Linked DNA regions of Homo sapiens: region 2 is linked to region 1. Evidence: promoter capture Hi-C in 16 types of primary human blood cells and fetal thymus (Javierre and others, 2016). All regions are on one chromosome and are shown on one strand. The core of a region is centred on a gene start or on the middle of the fragment in contact, and the rest is flanking DNA. Distances in the headings are between cores, read along the strand shown.

Evidence for each region. The method cuts DNA at HindIII sites, captures the fragments that hold promoters and counts their contacts. A CHiCAGO score of 5 or more calls a contact.
Region 2: a fragment that was not itself captured here is called in contact with the fragment with the promoter of SLCO5A1 in region 1 in 1 of 17 cell types (total CD4 T cells); the score reaches 6.6 in total CD4 T cells.

Annotation. Positions count from the first base shown.
Region 1 is chr8:69,831,306-69,837,770 of GRCh38, reverse strand. It overlaps SLCO5A1 (solute carrier organic anion transporter family member 5A1), which reads left to right and starts at 2,793. Exons shown (of 10, transcript NM_030958.3): 1 at 2,793-2,917; 2 at 4,602-6,004. The coding sequence starts at 5,098. It overlaps SLCO5A1-AS1 (SLCO5A1 antisense RNA 1), which reads right to left and starts at 3,659. Exons shown (of 4, transcript NR_186568.1): 1 at 3,578-3,659. RefSeq lists silencers at 2,528-2,637, 4,728-4,817 and enhancers at 2,958-3,037, 4,468-4,537. The HindIII fragment of the contact is 8,160 bases long and covers 2,245-6,465 here.
Region 2 is chr8:71,852,879-71,859,343 of GRCh38, reverse strand. The region is part of intron 2 of MSC-AS1 (MSC antisense RNA 1); the gene reads right to left. Among named protein-coding and RNA genes, the nearest start is that of MSC, 12 kb to the right of the region's middle. The HindIII fragment of the contact is 2,950 bases long and covers 1,511-4,460 here.

The sequences.
Region 1 (6,465 bases), core at 1,544-4,043:
GGACTTAGAAGAAGCAAACGTAAGTCTGAAAGTTTGAAGAGGGTTTACAGTCATATGCTTCCTCTCCCAAAATGCCAAACAAGGCAGGCATTCTGGTTAAAGTAACTGTAATTATTGAGTGAAATAAGGATAGTAAACACTACCATAGGGGTAGTAGAACCCCGTGATATGAGTCCATTTCTTTGTATTAATCAGACAATTACGGCTAATGAGGTGTGCTCTTCTTTTTCAAAGTCATATTTAACTGGGAAAGATAAAGCAAAAGAAATGCTTCTTGCTGAATGTTTTCTTCTTGTTTCCTATGTGAGTAAAATTGGACCTTTTAAAATTTTGTCTTTTTTAAAGTCATATTTAACTGGGAAAGATAAAGCAAAAGAAATGCTTCTTGCTGAATGTTTTCTTCTTCTTTTGTGAGTAAAATTGGACCTTTTAAAATTTTGTCTTTTTTAAAGTCATATTTAACTGGGAAAGATAAAGCAAAAGAAATGCTTCTTGCTGAATGTTTTCTTCTTCTTATGTGAGTAAAATTGGACCTTTTAAAATTTTGCTGTAAATCATGATCTATTAGTGGCAATAAAAAAATCCATAGGTTCTTAGAGTTGCATCTACTTTACGGTAACTGAGCATGAATAAAGACAGAGTGTTTCAGGGACACGATTGCTTGATTTTCAAGTAGGGAAGTCCTGTGATGTCCCCTGATGTATCACATTGAATTCACTGATGTCTGGAGCTGAGACTGAAATGAGAGAATGGGACACAGAGCTTGGAAGGAGGTAATAGGAGGTAGGTTGATTCTGTGTGGATTTAGAATCAGCTCAGAAGAGTATTTGGGTTCAGGAAGTGCCACGTATCTTTGCTCACTTTATCAGCAGTAGAGGACTAAAATCTGGGCAGGGTGGCAGCGGGAGTCCTATTGCCTGTTTGTAGAAAAGTGACTGTGCCTGATGGCGATCTCAAGAGGAGGAGACAATGGCAGGGAATGAAGAAATGCCTCGGTTGATAGGTCAGTCTTGCAGCTGCCAGAAGATTGATGCTCTCTCAGCATGGACTTCAAATACACACTGATTGTTCTTTACTGTCAACTGGCCTTAATTGTTCTCTAAGGATCGCTGTAGATACGACGGTTGTTGGACTAAAGGGAGATAATCAAAAGAATCAAGGTGCATTGACGAGTCAGGATGTTATTCAATGGCAGGAGAGAGGGTAGAGAGTCAGGGTTAAGAGGTTAAGTAAGAACATAGTCTTTTGGAGCACATTGGTTCATATTGTCTACAGAGCAGCTGTGTGCCTATATAAAGTTACTTAACCTCTCTACACTTATCACATCTGTAAAATGGAGACAATGCTTTCATTGGGCAAGGCCAAGGGCCAGTGGAGGGGCTTCGACCTGGCAGCAATGGCCAGCATGGTCACTGGTACTTGTGAGCAACCTCCTTTCCTCCATTAGAGCACTATCCTGCTCTGTCAATGGTCACAAGTGCCCTCAGATACTCTTTTTTTTTTTTTTTTTCAGTTATCATCCTGTTTGTCTTCCCTGCAGCCTGTACACATCTGACCCTTCCCTTCTTACAGTCGTCTGCTCTTTTGGCTTTTCTGATGCGTCCCACACCTCTCTGACCCTTGCTTCCAGTCTCCTTCCTTTGGCTGTACGCTGTCCTCCTAGATTCTTCACAATTTGGATGATCTTCCCTATTCATTCCATCCTTTCTCATGCCACCTTTGGGCTGATGACTACTGATCAATATTCCTAGTCCAAACCTCCTGTGTGTCCAGTGGCTTATGGGACACGTACACTGGGATGTCCCCCAAACATTTCAAACTCAACACATGTAGATGAGAACAATCTTTCTCCTAAAGCATGTTTCTCCACCTGTGCTTTTATTGGCTGTCAGGCACGTAGTCACCCAACTTGGTGCTAGAAACTTGGGAGTCATCCTACCTCGGCTGGTTTTCTTCTCTTGCAGATTGCATCAGCTGCCCAGTTCCCTCCTCTCCATGCCCCCTGCCAATGCCTCATCACATTTTGCTTTCAGACTGCCTCCCAACTCACTTCTGTGCCCGCAGTGTGGCCTCACATCTGTCTACCTGTCACTGCCAGAGCCAGCTCTCTGGTGAGGAAGTCAGAACGTCATTGCCCCCACATTATTGACAGTACACAACTTAGGAAACCCGTAGTGCCCCTTTCTACTCAGCCACTCTTGCAGTCTGGTCCTCTGCCCCATCCCTGCAATCTTCTAGGAAGCTTATCTACCTATTGACTGGCAGCACCATGCCCCCGTGCCTCTGTTCTTCCTGCTGCGTGGAAATGAAGGCTAATGGATATTGGCTACTCCAGTAGCAGGCTGCATAGATGTACCACGTTGTTTTAAGCCATTTACATGAGTATTTCCCCCACAAGCCAGAGGTTTCCTCCGACCAAGTATCTTGTCTTGTTTATCTTTGGTCCCAGAATCTACTATGGTGAATGAGACATGGTGTGTGCCCAAGGCACGGAATAAACGATCAGAAATGATTTATTTATTCAGAGTGGGCTGTCAGCTTCAGCCGCTGACTTTTCTAGAGACCGGCTCCCTCGGGGCTTCAGCGCTCTTGGGCCCCCGCAGCCACGCAGGTGAAGGGCAGCGGGGTGGCTGGCTGTGGGAGGGCTGGGCTGGGTGGCTGCCCTCGCGCCTGCGCCCTCGGCTGCTCCTCTCCGGGCGCGTCTCTGTGCGCGTGTGTCTGTTTGGAGCGGAGGAGAGGCTTGGGTGACAGGCGAGGGGTGGGGGGAAGAGTTCAGCCTGAGTCACAGTCTCATTCACTGATTTCTCTTCGGCTGGACGGAGGCTGCCTCCTCACGCGGCTCCCAACTATTCCCGTAGCTCAGTGCCCCCCTCCCGCCGCTCTACTCAGCCAGGCAGACAGACTGACAGACTCGCTAGTGAGTAGCGGCGGCTTGAGCGCCCGGGCAGCGCGGCGGGCTGTCGCCGGCGGTCTTGTCTTCCCACGGGCTCTGTGTGTGTGTGTGTGTGTGTGTGTGTGTGTGTGTGTGTGTGTGTAGGATGTGCGTGTATGTGATGTGCGCGCAGGGGGTGTCCCTGGGATTCCACGCCTGCTCCAAGAGCTCCCTGCCGGGATCCGCGTGTCCATCCGAGTCTGCGATGCTGTGAGGGCGCTCGCCTAAGCAGGGGGTTCGGACGCCCCCCGCGAGCGGCGAGAGTTTGCTGGGATTCCCCGGCTCCTCACGCAGCGGCTGGTGGGGTTCCCCGGGAAGGCGCCTGGGTAAGGCAGCGGCGGGGAAGCCCGGGATTGTGAGTGGCTGGCAGGCCGGGAATCTGGGAGCGGGTTTGGCCCAGCACAGCCGAGGGAGATGCCGGAGCGGCCACCCTTGGCCGCCCAGCCTCTCTGCCTTTCTCCCTTGCCCTTCCTCCTTTCTTTTCTCAGCAGCATCACAAAGGCGCGCTGCAAAATGAAACCCAGTGTAGTGAAGCTCGGCTGTCTCCCACCTGGTGCATATTCCGCCCCCCGTCCTTGCCCCAGGCTGGAGGAGTGGAGTGGGGGTCCCCAAGATTAGGGGCGGGGTCTTACCACGGGGGCACACCTGTTTTCGATTCTTGCTGAATTCAAGCTGGGTGCGGGATCGCGAGAGAGGTTCCAGTACGCCGGTGTGTGTGTGTGTGTGTGTGTGTGTGTGTGTGTGTGTGTGTGGCCGCGCACGCGCACACGCTCCCCAGGCCCACGCTAGCGGGGTGCGCTCAGTCAATAGCACACCTCCCCGCCGGCCCGCGTGCGCCCAGCCGGCTCCGTGGGCTCCTCGCGCGCTCTCTGACAGCGTGCCGGGATCTCTTTGTTTGGTTGTGGCTTCCCTAGCTCTCGGCAAAGCAGACGGATTTTCGGTTTCGTTTGATACCGCGCTCTGGGACTTAGTGCGGGCCACAGCCTCGAATGCCCCTGGTATTTGTAATTGAAGAGTTCTTTCGGTCAGGGGGTTATTTTTGGTGTTGGGAATAAAGAGGCAAGCATGTTGACCTTTTTGCTGCTGCCTTCGGCTTTGAATGTGTGTCTCTGGTGGAGCAGACAGATTCAAATCTAGTCGCGCACACGTGCCAACGCACACCAGTGTGCACACACATTTCTACACACGTAGTTTACCCCCACCTTCTTTTTTCCTTTTAGAAAAATTGGGACAGGGAATACATTGTGTGTCTGTGAAAAAGTTTCCTTTGTTCTTTTGGGCATTTTCTATTTTGAGTAATGGAGTAGGAGTACGGAAAGGCTGCAGTTAGTTCACTCGATTAAAAGACACTGCCTCTGAGTCAGAGCTGCCAGGTTGATAATTATTAACATATAAAAGCAAACGCAATGTTTAAGGCAGAAGGGGCGGGACGGGGGCAGGTCCGCGGCAGACAATGAGGGAGAGTCTCCGCCGACCGCCTGCTGCTTATTGTTCCGGGACTGGAGACTGCAGCCGGCTGCTGCCTAGTCCTCCGGGGCTCCGCTCCTGACTAGCTCCTCCGTCCCTCTAGGGACGGTTCGGGGTCACCTAACCCTGGTCCCCGGGGCGCTGGGACGCTAGCCCCAAGCCGCAGCCGCTCTTCGCTGACCGCCCTCTTTCTGCTTTGCAGGTCGGCAGCTTCACTCCCGAGGGTGCCGCGAGCCCAGGCGGCGAACACCCGGTACCCCTGGCGCAGCGAGGTGGGATGCTGTACGGACAGCAGCGCTAAGTGCCCCCCCACCCCCGGCGCAGGGTGCACTCGCTCCTGGCCGCGGGCCCAGCGGCGGCGGCGGCGGCGGCGGCGGAGGGGATGAGCCCGGGACGCGCGAGGCGCCTGCCTCAAGCTACCGCCCGGAGAGGGACGCCGAGTAGGGCTCATCGCAGTACCGCGCGGACCCCTGCCCCCTGTGGCACGCGGCTGCGGAGCCTTGAAGCCGTGTCTGTGATCAGGATGCACTGGGCGCCTCGCAGCTGGTGAGGATGCCCTGCTGCGCGGCCCTGCGCCCCCAGCCCCAGTCCCAGGTGGGCAAGACTGACTGGGCCCGGCTTCGGCCCCTCGTGCCGGTGGATGAAACGTGCCGGAGTGCTTGGGTGCCATCAGCTATCAAATCTGAATTCTAAGCGCCATGGACGAAGGCACTGGACTGCAGCCCGGGGCGGGAGAGCAGCTGGAGGCGCCGGCCACTGCAGAAGCTGTCCAAGAGAGGTGCGAGCCGGAGACCCTCAGGTCTAAGAGTTTACCGGTCCTCAGCAGCGCCTCCTGCCGGCCAAGCCTCAGTCCCACTAGTGGAGACGCCAACCCGGCCTTTGGCTGTGTGGATTCTTCGGGCCACCAGGAGTTGAAGCAAGGCCCGAACCCGTTGGCCCCCAGTCCCTCTGCCCCGTCCACTTCGGCGGGGCTCGGGGACTGTAACCACAGGGTGGACCTCAGCAAAACCTTCTCGGTGTCCTCCGCCTTGGCCATGCTCCAGGAGAGAAGGTGCCTCTACGTGGTCCTCACGGATTCCCGTTGCTTCCTGGTGTGCATGTGCTTTCTGACCTTCATCCAGGCGTTAATGGTCTCTGGGTACCTGAGCAGCGTAATTACCACCATTGAAAGGCGCTACAGTCTGAAGAGTTCCGAGTCGGGGCTGCTGGTCAGCTGCTTTGACATCGGGAACCTGGTGGTGGTGGTGTTCGTCAGCTACTTCGGCGGCCGGGGTCGGCGGCCCCTGTGGCTGGCCGTGGGTGGACTCCTCATCGCCTTCGGGGCAGCCCTCTTCGCCTTACCTCACTTCATCTCGCCCCCCTACCAGATCCAAGAGTTGAACGCCTCGGCCCCCAACGACGGCCTGTGTCAGGGTGGCAACTCCACCGCCACTTTGGAGCCTCCGGCCTGTCCGAAGGACTCGGGAGGAAATAATCACTGGGTCTACGTGGCTTTATTCATTTGCGCGCAGATTCTCATTGGAATGGGCTCCACACCTATTTATACCCTGGGACCAACCTACTTAGATGACAATGTCAAGAAAGAAAACTCCTCCTTGTACCTAGGTAAGACTTTCCTGTTCTCTCAGATATGTTTCACTCACACTGAAACTTACTTTCCTTACAAAAATCAAAAGGAAACATGTTCTTTCACATTTTCATGTATATTATAGATTAAAGTTCACTTTATTTTACGTTTTAGCCTTGCTGTAGTGTGTTTTCAGTTTGGGAGAGAATCAATTAGTTGAGAGTTCTTGAAACTAATTTTCAGACTCATACTTCATGTTTGTCTTTTCCCAAGTAACATAAACTTTAAACTGTGGGGTGATGCTTCTCTCTGTTGCTACCTACCTATGGAAAAGCTCCAATTTGTCAAGTTTATATTCTAATACACTTGTTGAGGAAGGAATAGCAGTACCTCATGTGTAAAGTTTTGATGATTTTCTGCTTCTATCTGCTGCTGCTTCTGATTTCTGTCCAGAGCAGCAGGGATGGTGGCGTGGCCAGACTACATACATCATGCTTTA
Region 2 (6,465 bases), core at 1,736-4,235, 2.0 Mb before region 1:
CACATAACTGGGAGTATCAAGCTGCATATAGAATATTTTGGCTTATATACAAAGATGAAATAAGTAAATAGGCAAACCTTGGATATCAATCTTGGCAATCCAATACTAAACCAGGATATTCTGAACTCTACAAAGTAAATTGATAAAATAATTTTGAAAATTATATCTTGCACATATTTGATATAGAGGTAAACTCTTTCAAAAGGAAAATTTCCCCACAATCTTAATATCTCAAAGTAGTGTTGGAACATGTCTCTGTATGGTGAGCAAGGCCAATGAAGAAGAGAAAGAAATAACAGATGGCCATTCTCTAGTTGCCCTATCTAAGACTAGGAAGTGGTGTGAGCTAAAAAAAAACTATCTTCACCTAACATTTCTTATTTTTAGGTAGTTTTTTCATTTCACTGTGTGTGAAAGAGAGAAAAAGAGAGTGAGAGTTTGAAAGAAGGGGAGAGAGAAACAATATTGATTTTTGTATGACATCTGGATCACTTTGTCCTGTGTTTATGAATGAAGTAAGGGACAGTAAAAATAAAGCTAATTCTATAGTCGGTTCACAAGCAGGATATAGGAGGAATGGGAGAGTTCTGAAATTCTGGGAGAATGGCAGCAGAAATTTAATCATATGCCTAGTCCATACTAGGTACTCACTATGTCCTTGCTTAAAGAGTTAAATTAACTGGGTTCATCACAGAATTCATTGACAGAATATATGCTAATTGACTACTTCTACTTGGTCGTAGTGGGAGGCTTGTGTTTTTTATGTGAAAGTACTAAAAGGATAAGAATAAAGAAACTAAATACATTCTATTTATTTTTATTGATCTAAAAACTGTTTTACAAAAGGATTAGAAGATATCAACCTGTCATCATCCTAGATACAAACAGTTAAACCCACCCCTCCCTCTAATTAGCTTTTCCTTTTGCATACAGAAGGAAAGCCTTTCAGACACAGCTGTTCTTAGGCCAGATTCTCTCAAGGGAATGACTCAGCCTCTGTCATGGAAAGACTAGTCAGAAACAAGCTATTGAGGAAGATGGAGAGACAAGAATATAAATGCACAGGAGTGTGGTTTACATAGGAGAATGTGGTAGACAAGCAATGTGAAGCTAATCTTGCTGAATCCCAGTGGTTCCTCTGCTCTGCCTCATTCTTGTGCCAGTGAAAATTGGAAACTTCAGAAAAGACTAAATATGGAGCTTCTTAACATATGTGAAACTTCTTAACATTCTCCTTCCTACACGTAGAGAACTGGTACTTAATTTACTGCTCTTTTAATTGGACCTCATGATATATAAAATATACATCAAGATTCAGTGGAAGACAAGGTGATGTCCGCAAAAATGACAGACTTGCGAAAATAATCTTCCCCATGAAAGCAATGAGAAAACTCACAAAATTATCAGAATCAACATTTTCAGAATGCTAGAAATTAGCCAAAGTTCTGCAGCAATCTGGGTATTTTTTTTTTGAAGAAAAACAGCTGAATATCAGTAAGAACAGTAAGCTTTGCTGTGTTTTAACTTGTCCTACTCCCATTCCCTTCTTCTCTTCCAGCTCCATAGTAGCCTTGAAAACTGACAGCTTACAATCACAGTGGAAGCCATAAATTAAGCAGACCTTTCAGGCATTGGAGGAACACTCTACCCCACAGCAGTAGGATATACATTTTTCTCAAGTATACACAGAACATTCCCTAGGATAGGCCCTATTCTAGGCCATAAAACAAATCTCAGTAAATTTAAAAGGACTGAAATAATACAAAATACTTATCCAGTAAGAGAAATACATTTGGGGAATTCACAAATTTATGGAAATTAAACAACACAATCATTTAAAAACCCATGGGTCAGTAAAGAAATCACAAAGAAAATTAGAAAATACCTTTATGGAAGAAAATGAAAACATGGCAAACAAAAAACCTAAGTAATACAAGTAATACATTTCTTATGGGGAAATCGCAATACCAACAATGAGATAGAAAACCTAAAAAGAAAACAAAGAGAAATTCTGGAGCTAAAAGGTATAATAACTAAAGTAAAAAAAAAAAATTCACTAGAGGGATTCAAAGGCAGATTTGAGCAGGCAGAAAAAAAAATCAGTGAAGATAGGACAATGGAAATCAACTTCATCTGAGGAACAAAAGAAAAAAAGTTTAAACAGGGCACAGTGGCTCATGTCTGTAATCCCAGCACTTCAAAACAGGAAGAGCCCTTGAGATCAGGAGTTTGAGATCAGCCTGAGCAGCTTAGTGAGACCCTACCTCTATAGATAATTTTAAAAATTAGCTGAACATGGTGGCACATGCCTGTAGTCCTAGCTACTAGGGAGGCTGAAGTGGGAGAACTGCTTGATCCCAGGAGTTTGAGGCTGTTGTAAGGTATAATCATGCCACAGCACTCCAGCCTAGGAGGCGGAGTGAAACTGTCTCTTAAAAAGAAAAAGAAAAAAGAATGCTTAAAGAAAAGTGAGCAGAGCCTAAGGGATCTGGGGGACAACATCAAACAGAATACATGTATTCTGGGATTTCTATAAGGAGAATGGAGAATGGGAAAGAGAGAATATTTATAGAAATAATGGCTGAAAAGTTCCCATATGGGATGAAATAAATGAATACAAACATCTAAAAAACTCAACAAACTCCAAGTAAGATGAACTAAAAGAGATCCACACCAAGACACATAATAATACAACTTTTGAGAGAAAGACGAGAGAATCCTGAAAGCAGCAAGACAGAAGGATCTCATCATTTACAAAGGATCCTCAATAAAACCACCTGCATATTTCCCATCAGAAACTTTAAAGGCCAGAAGGCAGTGGGGCAATATATTCAAAGTGCTGAGAGAAAAAAATTTTCAACCAATAATCCTATTTCAGCACACTATCCTTCAAAATTAAGTAAGAAATTAAGACATCCTTATATTAACAAAAACTGAGGGAGTATTTTAGTGCATTTTCTGCTGCTCATTACAGAATACCTGAAACTGGGTAATTTGTGAAGAAAAGGAATTTATTTCTTATAGTTATGAAGGCTGAGATGTCCAGAGTCAAGGGGCCACATCTGGTGAGAGCCTTCTTGCTAATGGGAACTCTGAAGAATCTTGAGGCCTGGAATCACATAGTGATGGGGCTGAACCTTGCTCAGGTCTCTCTTCCTCTTCTTACAAAGCCACCAGTTCCATGCCCATTAACCCATTATCCCATTCATCTATTAATCCATGAATAGATTAATCCATTCATGAAAGCTGTGCTTTCAAGATCCAATTACCTCTTAAAGGCCCTTTCAATACTGCCACATTGTGGATTAAGTTTGTGACATATACAATTTGGAGGAAACATTCAACAAATAATAAATGACATTTATAACTCAACAACAACAGGACAAAAAATTTAATTTAAAAATGAAAAATATCTAAATAGACTTTTCTGCAAAGAAGATAGATAAATATACAACAAGTACATTGAAAGATGCTGAACTTCATTAGCTGTTAGGGAAATGCAAATCAAAACCACTATAAGATATAACTTTCACACCCAGTACGATGATTATAATCAAAACAAAGAACAATAACAAGTATTGGTAAGGATGTGGAGAGACTACATTGCTGCTGAGAATGTAAAATGGTATAGCCACTTTGGAAAATAGTCTGATAGATTATCAAATAGTTAACCATAGAGTTACTATACGACCCAGCATTTCCACTATTAGGTATATACCCAAGACAGTTGAAAACATATGTTCACAATAAACTTGTACATGAATATTCATAGCAGCATTATTCATAATAGCCAAAGATTGGACATATCCCAGGTGCCCATAAATTGATAAATAAATAATTACAATTTGGTGTGTGTATATATATATATCATTATATGTATGTTATATATAATTATATATAATGAAATATTAATTCAGTCACATAAAATTGAAATACAAAAGCAAGCTAAAATATGAATGAACCTTAAAAAACATTATGCTTAGTAAAAGAAACAAGGCATTAAAAGTCTGTGGCTTATTATATAGAAAGTTTTTCAATGGAATATTATTATATATGTAGTATGTCCAGAACAGATGAATCTACAAAGACAGATAAACTAGTGGTTGCCAGGGGATCTGGAAGAGGGAGAAACGGGAAATGACTGCTAATGGTTATGGGGTTTTGTTTGGGGATGATACAAATGTTTAGGAATTACAGAGTGGTGATGGTTGCACAACCTTTTTGAATATACTTAGAAATCACTTAACTGCACATCTTTAAAGTATGAACTTTGTGGTATGAGAATTATATTTCAATTAAAAGAAAGGTTCAATGATTATCAAAGCAAAAATACTATAATTAAAATTAGTATTTTTCAACCAAGTAGTATAAACATTAGAATTAAATATAAAAAGTTAATGTGTTTTGTGTCACAAGTAAGTATAAAAGTTACTTGTAACATTTTCCTCCCTGGTCAAGCTTATTTTTCTATGACTTCTAAAACGAATGCTAAATATCAAGAACTAGAAGATTTACTATCACTTTAAATACTCTGGAGTTAAGCACAGAGTGCCTGGCATTGTAGCTTAGCCTGCTTATTAAATTCTCTAGTATTTCACATGCATTGTCCAAGAACATTGTATTAGTAAGGATACTCTAGAGAAACACAATGAATAAGGGGTGTGTGTGTGTGTGTGTGTGTGTCAGAGAGGAGAGGACAGAGAGAGACTTATTTTAAGGAATTGGCTCACACGATTGTGGAAGATGGCAAGTCTAAACTCTGGAGGGTAGCCTGGCAGGATGGAGACCAGAGAAGAGCTGCGTTCTAGTCTGAAAGCAGTCTGCTGGCAAAATGCCCTCTTCTTCCTAGAAGGTGAGTCATTTTCTATTACGGCCTTCATCTGATTGGATGAGACCCACTCATATTACGGCAGGCAATCTTCTTTACTCCAAGTCTAGTGATTTAAATTTATATCTCATACAAAAAAAAAAAAAAACTCCACAGAAAAATCTAGAATACTGTTTGTGCAACTATCTGGGTACAATGGCCTAGCCAAGGTGAGACATAAAATTAACCATAATGGACATGATATAGCAACAAGAGCACTAGACTCTCATTCTAGACATCTGAGTTCCTCTTCAATTATCTTTGTATTCTTCAGCAAGGAACTTCATCTCTCTTAACTCCAATATCTTTATCTGTAAAATATGGGGGATATTAATGTTTAAAATGAGAATATAAGGGTATGGGGGTGCAATCTGACATACTCTGCTTTTTCTCCCTGTTAAACTACATGTTAATGAGTTCCCTATAGCAAAAATGAAGAAATCATAAGTTTATTATTGATTTAAAATACCCTAAATTTGCTGTGTTCCAAATGCCTATGGAATATGTTGAAAGAAATCTGCTAATATCTCCAGAGAGCCTAAGTTTTGAAAAATAGTTTGCATGTATGTCTGTGTGTATGCATGCATTCATGTATTTTGTCGTTAAGTCCATTTTACATAGATAACGCACAACTGAAAGATCTGAGAAATATATAGATCACTCCATATTATATTCTGTCAGTGGCACCCCCAACATTTCTGCAATATAGTGATACTGCAACTTTGCAAATCCTTCCCTCTCCACCTACCCCAAAGAGTTAAAAGTATGGCTTCATTTTGCCTCCCTCCTGCATACCATGGGTCCCCAACTGTAGAATCTTCATCTAAATCTCCAAGAGTATTTCCCCTGAACTCCAAGTTCCTAAATTGCATCTCTACCTCATCAAAACTTAATGGTCCCATAAATAGTTCATTCTTGCAAGTTCTTGCTATTGAAAATATAAACAGGTTAATTTGTTAAGATTCAGCTATTTCTAGCTGAAAACCACTCCATGTGAATCACTGTGCTAGATAACTTCACATTTGTTAATGGGTATAAGTGCTCATCAGTCAATGTCATCAAAGCCCTTAACACTGTTTTGAAATACATTTCCTTACCCCTACTTAGACTCTTTTTATATTCTCCAGAATGGTTATTCCCCACATTTCCCATTTCTGTTGATTCTAGTAACTCATGTCTACCCACCTATTCTATGTAGACAACTTTAATTCATATTCCACTGAGAAAACAGAGACCATCAGGGACTAACTTCTTTAACTTCCCATTACAAATCTCTACTGATCTACAGAGACATCCTACAGTATTTCAGGCAAAAAGATATGTACATCCTCTTCTTCAAGGCTAACTCATCAGCCTCCATTTCCTGTGGGATTTGCTCCATCACTATTTCCATATTTTTAATATATTTTTCCCATATGTTAATATCTTTAATCCCCTCCCCATATTTTTAATATCTTTAATCTCTTTCTTTTCTCCAGTATCTTCCTCTCAAAATACAAGCATGCTCAAGCAGGTATCACTCTTAAAAACAAAACAAAAATAAAATAAAATACGTTTCCTATAAAGGTGCCATTCCAAAGGCTTCCACCTGGGGCTAA